Regions from separate parts of the Homo sapiens genome. Here all the other regions are linked to region 2. The links are contacts of gene promoters, found by promoter capture Hi-C in blood cells and fetal thymus (Javierre and others, 2016). All regions are on one chromosome and are shown on one strand. The core of a region is centred on a gene start or on the middle of the fragment in contact, and the rest is flanking DNA. Distances in the headings are between cores, read along the strand shown. Region 1 holds the start of LAMB4 (laminin subunit beta 4). Region 2 holds the start of NRCAM (neuronal cell adhesion molecule). Region 3 overlaps NRCAM (neuronal cell adhesion molecule). Region 4 overlaps LAMB4 (laminin subunit beta 4). Region 5 overlaps NRCAM (neuronal cell adhesion molecule).

Evidence for each region. Contacts are between HindIII fragments. The CHiCAGO score rates a contact against its expected background, and 5 or more counts as called.
Region 1: the fragment with the promoter of LAMB4 here is called in contact with the fragment with the promoter of NRCAM in region 2 in 3 of 17 cell types (naive B cells, total B cells and endothelial precursors); the score reaches 6.5 in naive B cells.
Region 3: a contact is called between a fragment that was not itself captured here and the fragment with the promoter of NRCAM in region 2, in 4 of 17 cell types (endothelial precursors, total B cells, erythroblasts and 1 more). The highest score is 9.2, in endothelial precursors.
Region 4: a fragment that was not itself captured here is called in contact with the fragment with the promoter of NRCAM in region 2 in 1 of 17 cell types (fetal thymus); the score reaches 5.1 in fetal thymus.
Region 5: a contact is called between a fragment that was not itself captured here and the fragment with the promoter of NRCAM in region 2, in 9 of 17 cell types (total B cells, megakaryocytes, naive B cells and 6 more). The highest score is 11.2, in total B cells.

What each region holds. Positions count from the first base shown.
Region 1 is chr7:108,129,094-108,131,795 of GRCh38, forward strand. It overlaps LAMB4 (laminin subunit beta 4), which reads right to left and starts at 1,268. Exons shown (of 34, transcript NM_007356.3): 1 at 1,213-1,268. The HindIII fragment of the contact is 5,422 bases long and covers 1-2,145 here.
Region 2 is chr7:108,454,919-108,457,895 of GRCh38, forward strand. NRCAM (neuronal cell adhesion molecule) reads right to left here and starts at 1,518. Exons shown (of 33, transcript NM_001037132.4): 1 at 1,325-1,518. The HindIII fragment of the contact is 7,436 bases long and covers 1-2,977 here.
Region 3 is chr7:108,150,262-108,153,032 of GRCh38, forward strand. The region is part of intron 32 of NRCAM (neuronal cell adhesion molecule); the gene reads right to left. Among named protein-coding and RNA genes, the nearest start is that of LAMB4, 21 kb to the left of the region's middle. The HindIII fragment of the contact is 2,478 bases long and covers 242-2,719 here.
Region 4 is chr7:108,095,159-108,098,077 of GRCh38, forward strand. It overlaps LAMB4 (laminin subunit beta 4), which reads right to left. Exons shown (of 34, transcript NM_007356.3): 12 at 70-179. Among named protein-coding and RNA genes, the nearest start is that of LAMB4, 34 kb to the right of the region's middle. The HindIII fragment of the contact is 3,277 bases long and covers 1-2,918 here.
Region 5 is chr7:108,167,202-108,169,971 of GRCh38, forward strand. It overlaps NRCAM (neuronal cell adhesion molecule), which reads right to left. Exons shown (of 33, transcript NM_001037132.4): 29 at 1,076-1,201. LOC102724363 (a long non-coding RNA gene) reads left to right here. Exons shown (of 4, transcript XR_002956579.2): 3 at 1,480-1,589. Among named protein-coding and RNA genes, the nearest start is that of LAMB4, 38 kb to the left of the region's middle. The HindIII fragment of the contact is 6,018 bases long and covers 1-2,770 here.

The sequences.
Region 1 (2,702 bases), core at 18-2,517, 330 kb before region 2:
TTTGCCTCATCTGCTCTCACTTGAAGGCTGCAAAGAGTTTACTCTTTTTTGTCAAAACAATTTGGATGAAACAGATGAAGAGAAAAGGGCCATGTGGTGCCCATTTGCCCAGCTCCTAGAACCACAGGTGCATCGTGTTTGATAAGAGCCTCTCCGCAGGAAAGACATGCATTCCGCTCCTGTTTCTACTACAGCACCTTTCTTCTGCAAATTGGACAGTAATTTATAACACAGAAGATAATTATAAATACATTTATATTAGCCCTTAAGACTTTTTCTGGTACACAAATAATTGTCTATAAAGTGACAGTTCTCAGAAATCTTGTATTTAACTTTCCTTTGTCTAACTTTTTTTCATGTTATGTCAGGACTCATTAGATATTTCAACTGTTTTGCCTAAATTTCATCATAGTGAGGAATGCAGAATACAGAACTATAAAGTTTACTTTTTTTTTTTTTTTGGAGACAGAGTCTTCCTCTGTCACCCAGGCTGTAGTACAGTGGCACATTCTTGGTTCACTGCAACCTCAACCTCCCATGCTTAAGCAGTCCTTCCATCTCAACCTCCTGAGTAGCTGGGATTACAGGCATGTGCCACTACGGCTGTATAGTTTTTACAGAGATGGGGTTTCGCCATGTTGCTCAGGCTGGTCTTGACCTCCTGAGCTCAAGCAATTTGCCTGCCTCGGCCTCCCAGAGGGCTGGGATTACAGGCATGAGCCACCATGCCCGGCCAAGTTTATGTTTCTTTTAGTTATAGCAGACTTGCTTTTCTTAAAACAATATTTACACATATCTAGAACATTAACAAAATATTTTGAAAATATGGGTAGTTCTAATGCATTTAAACTTTTATAAGTTGTCATAAGTTTTATAACCATAACAAAAACAAACATTTGCTGAAAACACAATACAGTTGTACATTTCAACACTACATCATTTGAAGCTCCCTTCAAGGTACAGTAAGGCTCAAGTTGTTGGCTTCATATCACAATGCACTAACATCAATTTTCCCATTGGATACTGTTTTATGTTGCAAGAACCTTTATTTAAGTGTCATTGGACTATCATTCTGTAAAAGTAATAGTAATCTATGTGCTAATATGTCCCATTTCTTACTTTATGACAACTCCACTTACCCCCTAAATTCTAATACCTTCATTTAATCCATAAAAATGCCAATTTGCTAGTGAGAGAGCAGGCAAGACTTACCAGGATCTGGGAGTCTTTGTGGAGAGGTTCAGGCAGCAAACGGGGCATGTGAAGACACACCTGAAAGTTAGAGCCAGTTTATGTAGAAAACATTCTCCCCGAGGCACCTAAAAGTAGGGAAAAAAAAAGACAAGAGGTATTCCAATGCCTGTCAAAAAGGTGATTTGTGAAGTCACTTAAGTTTTAACTTATACACACACACACACCCACACACACACATAAACAGGGAAATAGAGCTCAGTTTTACAGCAAATATTTTTCTTGTTTTCTCTAAAACCAATTTTAATAGCCAGGAATAATGCACAGACATTTTGTTCCCTGATTTATTTATGTTTTTCTGGTTCATGTTTTAGCGGTCATTTTCAGACAGCTTGATACTTACCAGCTATAAAATGTGCGGAATTAGATGGGCTTGTTTCTCAGGAATGTGAGACCCCTGACTCCATCCCAATCTACTTTCAGGCGGACCAGGTGGAATAGTTTCAGATGGGTTCCCAAGGCTCTGACCAGTCCTACCTGGCTCAAGATCATCTTAAATGGCTCATAGATTTCTGTTTACCTTGTGATTCGGCAAGTACAACTAACCATTGTGGGAATGGCAAGTTTAAGTGGTTTTGGAATCCATGTGGTTTGAAATTTCATTCTCCTACGAGGAAGGTTTATAGTATAGAAATGAACCTACAGCAATCTTACATTTTATTCACTTGTCAGTGGATTAATATCTCCATTTCAAATCTGTGCAGTTTCAATGGGTAAGTTTATTGGTTGCTTGAAAAAACATTTAGGATTTCTAGAAGCTCATGGAAAATACCCTTAGGGAAGAAAAATGATTGTGAACTGAGCCAAAATGAGATGCTCATTTTTACACAACATTTACAAATCAGGAAATAGATTCAACAAACTTTCACCAAATACCACTCTTACAGGCCTTTAAGCTTTTTCAAGGGTATTTTTCAATGCTTCTTACCTGTTATTTGTGTTTTAATTTATTGCTCTATTTTTCCATCGATGCCACTGTTTTTAATTTTGTTCCCTATAGGTCAGGTTCATCTGCTCACTTCTGATGTACTAGAAAGCAAACTCCAAGAGGGCAGGAACATGTCTTTTCCATTTTAGGATGAAGTATAGAAGAAGCTTGCAGTCAATATTTGCTAAACTAACTTGTTTTATTTATTTTTTACAAGCCAACAGCTGCCACAAAGTACCAGGTGGTAGGAGACCAAAGAGCAGTATTTGGTTTTTAGGTGGATACTTCAGCAAAGTGTGTGAGTGAAATCAAGGGACTTTCAGTTTGTTCAATTGACGGGTTTGTGATCTGTTTTATTAGACCAATACTATTTTCCCTTTAGACTCTTAAATTATTGTGCAAAGCATAAACTCTAGGCATTAAAATTTATATAATTTTTAAACTTATTTCAAACATTGGAATTTCATATTGTCTTTTTTGCCTTTTGAGATATGTAAATTTTAAAAGCTTGTTGCATTCTTGA
Region 2 (2,977 bases), core at 268-2,767:
GCTGGAGCCCCTGATGCGAAGAAAAGGGAAGGAGAGAGGCGGGGTGCGAAAGAAACGCCACCGCTCGGCGCCCTCCCTCGGTGCCCGCGGCGCAGGGGCCACCCGCCAGCGTACGGGGGACGAAGATGTGGCCGCGGGCGCGGGCGGGAGGGGAGGCGATCCGGGGAAGGAAGCGGCCTGTTCGCCAGCCCCGGGGCCCGGGGAGCCCTCCAGCAGCGCTTGCGGCCCTGAGGACACCGCTTTGGGAGAAATGACGACTCCCTTGCTCACCCTACTGCGACACCCCGTCCCCCTCCGCACTCTAGCAGATGCGGGCCGGGAGTAGCTGAGCTGGCCAACCGCCTGGGACCAGGATGCGGCAGCGCCCACCCGCGCGGCGTGGAGGGGGCCGGGGGCGGCGCTCGGCGCAGATGGCGCTCGCTGCGAGATGGATGCTCCAGGGCGGGTAATCACTCCTGGCTCAACACAGCATCCCGGGCGGAGCGGATGCCAGATCCCACCGCTAAGAGCCTGGGCTGGGAAAGCAATCTTTCCAGGCAGCCCCCAGCCCGGTGCGCCGGCCCCGACAAGTCCCAGCCCTCGGAGGCAGGGCGGGGCGCAGGGACTCCCGGGACCCGCACCTGTAAGGCCGACAAAGCCCCCGCAAGCGCCCCACCCCTCTGTCCTCCGTGTCTCTCTCGTTCCGCCTCGATTCCCCGAGCCCTCTCCAGGCAGCGACTGGAGAAGCGAAGTCGGCCTCGCCCCCGAACTCCGTGGTCAGCACAGGTGTACGCACTTCCGAACAAAGCCCACGCCCAGACGTGTCCGCAGGGGCCCGAACAGGCACACGCCCGTGCGCTCCCGGCCCGGCCCCCGCGCTCCTCGCCCCGCCGGCACTGTGGCGTGACGCCCCGCGCCTCCGTGTCCAAGCCCGGGAAGCCGCCGTGCCGGGCCCGCAGGCTCTCCATGCCCAACTGCCCACGAGCAAGAGCTCTGGGCAGGGCTTCCCGGAAAGCGTGGGGTGCGGGCGCGGAGCAGAAGTTGGCCACAGGCTGGAGGGGGTGGTGGGTGCCGGCGCTGCTGGATTTCAGCTGTGCCTTCACCCAAGCGCAGGTCCCCCTGCTCCCTCTCGGCGCCCGCGGGAGTGTCGGGGGCCTGCAGGGGAGAAGGGAGTTGGAGATCTGCTTTGCCCCTCCTGCAGCGCTGCCAGCCCGGTGAGCGCTCGGCTGAACCCCGCGGCGGTGTCCAAGTGACAACGCAGCAGCCTCGCGCGTCCTCCTCCGCTCCAGCCGTCACCCCCGAGCAGGACCCAGTGTCACCGCCAGACGCGCAAGGAGCTACTTACGTTCTCGCGCCGCGCCCTCCGCTCAGCTCTGGCGCGACTGCCCAGGACCCTGGACCGCCGGTGTCCTCCGTTCTCGACGAAGCTATCCCCTCTGGCTGCTCCAGCCAGGCGGCCCCTGCGCCGTCCCCCGCGCCCGCGCGTCTGAGGCTCGGACTGCGGCGCGCGTCCGCCAGCGACCCTGGCGAAGCGAGGCTGGCCCCGCGCCGGCGCGCGCCCCCGCCGCTCCCGCCCTCTCCGCTCCCCCTCCCCGCGCCGTGCTTTTGCCCCTCCCGGCTCTCCTTAGCGTCCTCCCGTCCCCCTCCCCCGCACTCCCTGCGGGCGTCCTCCGCCTCCTCCCCTCCTGGCCAACCCCCTCTTGCCCTGCTGCTGCGACGGCAGCGAATGGGCTCCAGCCGCCGGCGCCTCGAGGGACTGGGTGGCCCCTCACCTGAGCGGCCGCCCCACCGCCAACCTCCGTCAGCCTGCGAGCGCGTGTGGCGGCGGGGGTGGGGGTGCGGGGACGGAGGGCGGGAGTGTTCCGGGGCTAGGATGGCTGGGATTTAGCTACAAAAGATGTTCCAGAAAATGGGTAGTTTTTGAATGCCACTCTCATGGGTTTAGCTTTCTGTGGGAGGTCTGTGGTCTTCTAGTTTTTTCTTTTTTAAAAAGCACTTTCTTCGAAATTCATCAGTTGGGGTGGTTGAGATTGGGTGAGTGGTTTTGGGGGTTTTGTTTTGTTTTTGCAACCGTTCTTTCCAAACACTCCCCGCCGCCCCCCACCACCGCAGAAAAAAGAGCTTTTAGCATAAGGCGGATGCTATCTATCCGCGGTAGAAACTGGGTCTTCTGGTCCCAAGGAATAGGGTTAGTTCGGATTTGCTTATTTACAAATGGGGGAGTATTATGGAGATTTTTTTTTTTTTTTTTTGGCAATGTAAATCGAGAATTAAGATTTTCCAACTGTATAGTATTTGAGTAAACACACTGCTTGCTGCATAGTTCAGGCTCCGAAGCGCACGTCTCCACTCTATCGTGGATGGTGTTCAGGATCCTTAGCCTGACCCTTGGGTCCTCCGTAATCTACTCCGGTCTGCACACAAATTACTTGTCTGCTGGGTATCACCCGACTTGACCACTTACAGCAGGCTCCAGCGCTTAGTGAGCTCAGCGGAGCCTTGATTCCTTCAGTTCTCTAATTCAGGAAAACATTTTCTGAGCTCCTCACCACCCCACCCCACCTCACCACCTCCTCCACCCCCAGCCTCCAAGGTGCTGGGGCAAGATTCAGGAATGAAAAAGAAACAGGTTCATCCTTCAAGGTCTTGACTACCCCAGTGGTCTGTTCTAACTTCAATTTGAACTTGCCCCGTCAGCTCACAGCATCTGCATGCAAGTGAGCAGCCTTCTTTTCCTTCTCCTTCTACTGCCATCCTCTCCTCCTTCTCCAGCCAAATGTGCTCTGGCCTCACAGAGCCTCCCTCGGTTCCTGAACCAGCATGATATCTGGCTGCTGGGTCATTGCACAAGTTGTTTCCACAGTCCCATCAGTGGTTCTTCTGACTCTAGTCCTTACCCAACTGCCATTCAGGTGGTACCTTGCACCTCTCAACTAATTGTCCAAATTTTCCTCTAAAATACCTTCCCCCCCGCAAAAAAAAAGATTCCATGATCCCC
Region 3 (2,771 bases), core at 231-2,730, 300 kb before region 2:
CCAAATCTAATTTTCAGGTTGACTCCAATGACGAGGATGAGTTGGAATGGAAATCAGGAGCAGAAATGGTTGAATCATGAAGTCTTCAGTAGAGTGGATGGCTCCCAATAGTGTTTGTTAATTTCAATGACAAATTCTGATTCCTGAGTTGAAAGCAATCCAGAAATAATCACAAGCATTAAATAAGAAAGAATTCAGAAAAGTAGAAAAATCATCACTATTTTGAATTCAAAAAGGCAAAAGCTTATGGCAAGTAAAGAAGTTAGTATGTTAAACTGCATAATATCTCTGATTCCTTGGTTGTGAATGGAGCATGATTTTGGTTAAGTGTGAAATGTGGATTTTTTTTTTCTGAGCCAGAAGGAGAAGCAAAATCCTGCATTTCAAATAATTTTGTTATCAATGCAGGCCAGACTGTAAACTTCAACCTTACCTTTCAAGAGACCTACAAAATTCCATTAAAAGGATGCAGAAGAAACAAATGAAAACAGCCTAAGAAGAAAAGCAAAATCCTTATACTGATAGTACACAGTATTTTTTTGTTTTTTTGGTAAAAATTTTAGTTAATGAGTAAAGATTTATTAATCTGGAAAGAGACGCACTTTAACTTAAAAGCTCTACATTTGTACTATGAATGGCATGCCAATATATTCTAAAGAATGTGAATGACTCCAAACATGTAATAGCAAATGCTTCCTACACTCATGTTAACCCCCCAGCTCCCTTCTTCCTTGTGTGTTATGCAGCCTGACTATACTGGATGGGAATCTGAGGAGTGTACTTTAATACGACTTTACAAGATTCCATTATTACAATTTTTGCTTATTTCTCTGTTGAACCCGTAAGCACAATTTCTGGAAGACAAAGAGTAATCATTATGTTTTTGAATGTTCACCCATACGGTCAAATACCTAGTTATGCATATTGACCTATTTTTTAATAGGTAACATTTGGGAAAAAAATAGAAAAAGGCAATGACAGGATCTAACATTTTGTTTTCTTTCAAAGAACAAAAATGCAAGGCAAAATAGGAAACATATACATTTTTACTAATGTAAAAATGAAAAAGCCTTAACATACAAAAGGTATCACTGGCTGCAGTATTTAATCTAGCAATTTCTGCTAAGACTTTACTGCTCCCTCTGTTTCAGACAGTGACTTTTTTTTTCAAGCCAAGATACAAACATTTCAAGATGCACAAGTATCCTGGCTCTTTTGACAATAACTTTTACTAGGGATTTCAATTTTTCTCCAAGAAGAAAATCTGAAGACTGGGAAATAATGCTAGCATAATATGACACTGGCATATGCCACTGAAAACAACCTGTTTCAGTAATACACAATTTCTTATTGCAAACTGAATAAACTATATTTTCACCACTGCTAATAAACAACTGGAGAGGTATCATCTTGGGGTGGTCTGTGTTTGTGAGCATTTCAGAGGACATAGCATTGAGTGTCTAACCTGTTATGAAAATAGCCTACACAACATCTCTGGGGTTTAATTATTAAATCCTTCTTGTGAAATATAGTTCATGTTTCAGTGTGACAGTTAATTCAGCTGAAGAGTTCAATAACAGGCAGAATTTGTCACCTGGATTCCAATGACTAGTCTTATTCTGCTCTGTAGAACTAGTGTCCCAAGGAATACACTGCTGGAAATTTGTCATCTGTGGCATTTCTTTGGTCTAGCCATCTATCCACCCATGCCTTCATCCAATAAATGTTTATTGAGTGACTACTCTAAGATAGATTGTTCTCGGCACTGGGAATATAGCAGCAAACAAAACAGACTAAAACCCTCACCTCACTGGCTTTATTTCTAGTGGAAGAAAATACAATTAACAATCAACATAATAAAAAAAATTACATATATATTATGTCAGAAGAGGATTAGCACTATGCAAAGTATAGAGCTGAGTAAAGACTGCAGAAGGTGTTGGAGAAGGGATGGAGAGCTGGCATTTAATAAGATGTCCAGGAAGACCTCATCAAGCAGTAATATCTGGTCAACAACTTTAAAAGAGTTGAGTTAGCAAGGTGAATAGTTGGAGGGAGAGCAGTTCCTGCAGGAGTAACAAGCAGTATAAATGTCTCGGGGTGAGGGGAAGCCTGGCAGGTTCTAGGAACACTAAGGAGCTTGGTGTGGCTGGGGGGAGGGAGAGAGAGAGAGAGAAAAGTAGGAGTTAAGTAAGGGGAGTGGCACGGCTAAATCAGGGCTTGTGGAACATTGTAAGGACGCTGCCTTTAACTCTGAGTGAGACAGGAAGCCCTGGGAGGGTTTCAAAGAATAAGTGACATGCTCTGACTTATATTTTAAAAGCACTACTCTGCCATCAGTGTTGAGAATAGCCTACCTTAGAGGGCTGGGGTTGGTAAACTACAGTAAAATTAGGCCACGCCCATTTATCACATAATGTCTATGGCTGCTTTAGCACTACAATAGCAGAATTGCAGAGTTGCAGCAGAGACCGCGCGGCCTGTAAAGTCTAAAATATTTAGTTGGCCAACCTCTGCTCTATAGAGTCAGGGGAGAATATTACAATAATCCAGGAGTGAGATGACTGTGACTTGGACCAGAGTGGAACACTGGAGGTGGTATAAAATGCTCAGATTATGAACATATTTTGAAGGTAGAGCCAACAGGATTTTCTGATAGGTTAGACATGGAATAACAGAGAAAAAGATGGTGCCAGGATTTTTGGTTTGAGCAACAGGAAGCTTGGAAGTACTGTTACTATGGAGTGGAGCATGTTGGGAGGGGAAAATCA
Region 4 (2,919 bases), core at 30-2,529, 360 kb before region 2:
TCTTACCTAGGCAATGGCAATAGAAATCTGTATCACTATAGAAAAGGGAAACTATAGGCAAATACATACAGTGCATTCTTCGCAGTGTGCTCCGGTGACATATGACAGGCACAAGCATTGGCCTGTATCCACATCACAGGTCAAGAATGGCAGACTCCCAAGGGGGTTACAGTCGCAGGCTGAAAGCACAGCATACACAATTATTCTCATTCTTAATTCCTCCACTCTTGCAAGTGTACTTAATAGCTCACACAAAGCAAGAAGCATAACCGCAAGAACACAGAGAAGCCTGCCCTGCCAGGTTTATTGTGTGCCTGGCTGCGTGATTATTGTTTTGCATATAACCTCACAGAGGAAATCCTGTGTCAGGCACTTCCAGAGCCTCATGTAGTTTTACTGGATGGCAATTAGGAGGAGGAGACAAGTAGGTGTAGCTAGTTGTACATGCTGCAGTACTGGCACAGTAACCCTAAGTGATGCTGACCAGGCTGGTGACTCAGAGGCAGGAGTTTCTGGGAGTCATGGTTATTACTGATCGCTCCTTCTCTGGCAGATGCATCTGGAATCCCACTCTCTCTTCTCTCCTTTAGTACTTTGTTACTTTTTGTCTTAATTCCCCCCTCCTTCTTCTCCTCTACCCGTAGACATTTCTGAGCCCTGCATATGTTGCAAAGGCTAAAAAGACATGCTACCAGAGCAAGGAATACACTTGCAGCAAATACCAACGTTCATGGAAATAACCCAAATGTCCCATTGACTAATGAATGGATAAATAAAAGTGGCACCTCTGTACAATAGTATGTTATTCAGCAATAAAAAATAAAGACCGATGTAATCTGCAATATGGATAAAACTTGAAAACATTACTAATTGTACCATCTTAACCATTTTAAGCAGGCAGTTCAATTGTGTTAAGCACATTAACATCGTTGCATAAACAAACTCCAGAACGCTTTTCATCCTACAAAACTGAAACTCTATGCCCTTTATATAATAACTCCCCACTCCTTCTCCCCTCTAATCCCTAGCAACCACCGTGCTGCTTTCGGTCTGATTTTGACTACTCTGGGTACCTCATATAAGTGGAATTATATAGTCTTTGTCTTTTTGTGACTGCCTTCTTTTACTTTGCATAATGTTCTTAAGGATCATCCATGTTGATGGATGTGTCAGAATTTTTTTCCTTTTTAAGGAAGAATAAGATTCCATTGTATGTAAATACCACATTTTGTTTACCCACTCATCCATCAGTGGATACTTGGGTTACTTCCACCTTTTGGCTAGTGTTGCTGTGAACATGGAAATACAAATATCCCTTCAAAGCTCTGCTTTCAATTATTTTGGGTATATATGCAGAAGAGGGGTTTCTTTTGTGGGGGGATGAAAATGATTGTGGTGATGATTACACAACTTCCAATATACTAAAAATTATTGAATTGTTTACAGGGTGAATTGTATGGTATGTAAATTATATTCAATAAAGCTGTTATGGGCTGGGCACAGTGGCTTATGTCTAGAATCCCAGCACTTTGGGAAGGTGAGGCGGAAGGGTTGCTTGGGATCAGGAGTTGAAGACCAGCCTAGGAAACACAGTGAGACTCCGTCTCTCAAAAAAAAAAAAAAAAAAAATTAGATGGCTGTGGTGGCACATGCTTGTAGTTCTAGCTACTTGAATGCTGAGGTGAGAAAATTGCTTGAGTCCAGGAGTTTAAGGCTGCAGTGAGCTATGATTGTGCCACTGTAAGCCAGCCTTGATGACAAAACAAGACTCTGTCTCTCTCAAAAAAAAAAAAAAAAAAAAAAAAAAAAAAAAATTTAAAGCTGGTATACACCCCCACACACCAAAATAATGTTCAGCCTGTTCTTGGAGGACATCATTTTAGTCAGAGAGTCAGAGAAACATGTGGAATGCTGAAAGGTATGATGGGAAATTGGTTTGACTATATAATTCATTATCATGACATTTAATTTTGCCATCAAACTTAAGAAGAGCGTTTTATTACAGAAAGATTCAGACCAATGTTTTCTAAACATGCAAATAATCCACAGTTCCTTATATGGGCAAAAATATGGAGCAGGAGGCTGTGACCAAATGGAAATTATTTACCCAGGGTTTCTGAGGAATCTGTAGCTCTACGGAGGCCCGGAGCAGCTCTAAATTTCTGTGATCCTATAGCTAAGGGTCTGCTCATTTGGCCTTAGAAAACTGCTGAGGTGTTTTTCTATTTCCGCTCCCCCGCTTCCCTGAGCTCTTTAATTATTTTTTCTTTTATCAGAGAACATATGGACCAATATTAGAAGGGGTGTGAGAAGAAAGGGGAAACATAATTTAAAAAATAAAAAGAGGCCGGGCATGGCGGCTCACGCCTGTAATCCCAGCACTTTGGGAGGCCGAGACGGGCGGATCACGAGGTCAGGAGACAGAGACCATCTTGGCTAACACGGTGAAACCCCGTCTCTACTAAAAATACAAAAAATTAGCCGGGCGTGGTGGCAGGCGCCTGTAGTCCCAGCCACTGCACTCCAGCCTGGGTGACAGAGCGAGACTCCGTCTCACAAATAAATAAATAAATAAATAAACAAACCACCACTTGAAAATTGCCTAAGATGACATCAATCTTGCAGAAACACATAATGTAATTTAATGGATTTGTATGTAGAGGTCTAGTGGAAACCAAAAAAACTTTTGCAACTTGGCGTTAAATTTCTTGCCATTTCCCCGTGTTTGTTCCAGTGGGGAAAATGTGAATGCCCCCTGCTGGTCCTTTATGATAAACCCAGCAAACCACAGAGAAAAGTTCTCCACTAACCGCTTAGGATTTACGGGAACCATTATGTTACTTTTTAAAACCCAGAGGTTGGCAGGATTCTTAGGTATTCATGATCATCAATTTTTAGGGCAGACAGAGACAGCCCCAA
Region 5 (2,770 bases), core at 146-2,645, 290 kb before region 2:
GATTATTATAAATGTAGTCATGTCAAACAAATCAATTAAAATGACCTACAGGAAAATATCCTCAAAGAAAAATAGACTGGGTATCTAGCTTGCTTATTAATTGTATATATTCCCATTGTATTAATTCTCCTCTTTAATACAAAGGAAGGTTCTTTATCTGCACCTTGCCTTATGAAACTGTTGAGTTTCTCTAAAGATGTTTCTCAAAAGAACTGATACACATTAATTAGCTTAAGTGAACTATGGGAAGAATTGTTTTTTTATGATTCACAAGATGAATCTTTTAGTAAACTTAAATGCCTTCCAACGTATCCAATTAATCGATTCAACCTTTCCCAAGTACCGGTTTTTCTAAAGGGATCGTCATTTCTAAAAACATTTACTTGCATGATAAAGGCTTAAACAGAAAGTTGGACTCTGTTCAACATTTTGTCACAAACATTTATTGGCCACCTCATTTGTTCTATGTAAGCACACTGCACTTAGGAGGGGGGTACTGGCTTTTCATAAACTGCTGAAAGTGAAAGCTGCCCCATCTCCCAGTAGATGTGGCCAGGATCTACGAAGAGTGCCTGACTTGAGAATACATCAAACGTTAAAACATAATGAATGCTCTCCCAAAGTATTAATTTTCTGCGGTTTCTTATAAAATTCTGTTGGGCTAGTCAGGGCAAAATGAATACTTTCAAGTCAGTTTGATTTCTGTTACTTCAAGATCCAATTTGAAAAAAAAACCTTTTCTTCTTTTCTATTGTACTTGCAAATATAATTATTCCTTCTTACTCTTGTTTATGTGTTGTGGGCACAGAACTAGTTTCAAGTACTATGATATGAAAATAACATACGTAATGGAACATATGCCCTCTGTTATTAATAACATAAAAAAGCAATTCCTAGTCGTGCATATAATATGTGGTAGGCTGATGGTTCACTATAATTTTTTTAGATAACTCATTCATTTAATTGGATCAAGTTATTTTTCAAGATGATCCATAGTAAATTCTTAAGAATGTTTTTAATCTTTTAAAAAATGCATCCCCCAAATTAAAAATCGGGTAATGAAATTGTTTCTTACTGCCTGCTACACCATATTCAACATAAAAGTTCACATGCTCTGGTCCCTCATATTCCCAACTGATATTGGCATAGGTCTCAGCAGCTGCAGCAGTAAGATTGCTGATCCTGGGATTTACTGCTTGAACTAAACATACAATAGAAAAATAAAACAAACAATCATATTGCAACACCATACACACGAATATAAAATAAGTTTAAATACTCTGAAATTGTGCAAATAGAATTAAATAGAATTTACTGCTAAAATTTAGGGTTCACTCATGCTTTGCTTTCATTACAGAAAGGTTTTTGTTTCTTAAATTCAGCACTAGGAAATTAATAATCAGAAATAATGACGCATAATATTAAAATTTGTGAGTTCTATTATATGGGTTCTGAACAATGTTAACTGTTGTCCATTAGATACAGTCCCGGGAAATGTCACCGTCTTCATTTACTAAAGTGTGATGGAGAGGGGGATTGCTGAACAATCCCAGGGACAGACGTCATCATGGAATGTCAGAGACGCCAAGGTAAAACCCAATACTATGTGGCTACTTTTCAAACCTATTTGTCATCTCAATGCAGGTCTTTAAAAAATCTGTGTTGGTGTGACAGAGAATGCCCCTTTGAACAGCGTTTTTGATCTGTTTTAAAAAACAGACTTCTTTGAGTATCACTGGGAAACTCAGGGACCCCAGGTAAGAAATCCCTGCTTTAGAGAATGATGGATGGTAAGGGTATGTTGGAAGAGAAGCTGCAAAAGGAATTTCCAGATGTGTTCTATCAGAAGTTAAGAAAGAATAAATAAAAGGAGTAAAAACTATTTCATGTAACATTTCCTAGAGAGCAAGACAATCTTACCTGTTAACTGTTTGTTACAAAGCATTTTCTGAAAAATCATAGTGCAACCTAAATAGCTTCTTAAAAATCCAAATTATGGAGACCAGATGATGCTACATGCTTGCTACTGGGTAAAGACAACATCTAAAGTCATTAAAAAATGTTATTTGAATACCTGAGGCAGGCAATTCTATCAGTCCTACCTCAATAGCTTAAACTAAAAATGAAACATTTACAGATGTGTTAATTTGGGTAGTTAAAAAAGAAGATCAATTTATTATCTCACATAAAATTTACTAGGATAGTCAATCAGACAGCATCAATAGGTTTACCAAGACACTAAAATTATATTCTAAGATATGTTTATAAAATGTAGACGCTCAAGACCTTTGTTCAAATAAATGTAATAAAATTACATTTCTTAGAATTAAGAAAAGAAAGATATTAAAGCAGTTAAATAATGCTTTTGACTTCTGAAATATAATTCAACAACACATGCAAATTTTGTATCTCTTTGTGCTAAGCATGGGGAAACAGCAGAGGGCAAAACTGATTACTGAATTATGCAGAGTCCTTCTGTGGACCTAATTAATTTTAGTTTTCCGAGATTTTCTTCTTATAGGTAAAATAATAGGAATATGATCAATCAATGACAGTAAATATGCACACATGTGTAAAACATCAATGGCAACCCAGGAAAAACATTAATTTTCTTAAAAAATTTTGGAATATTGAAACAGGAATTTAATCTTGGAGTAATATGGAAGATGTTCAAGGCAGAAACATAATACTTCTAACACAAGAGCATTTACTAACAGAAGAGCAAAATACTTCTAACGGAAAAGCATTTAGTTTCTTCTTATATTTTACA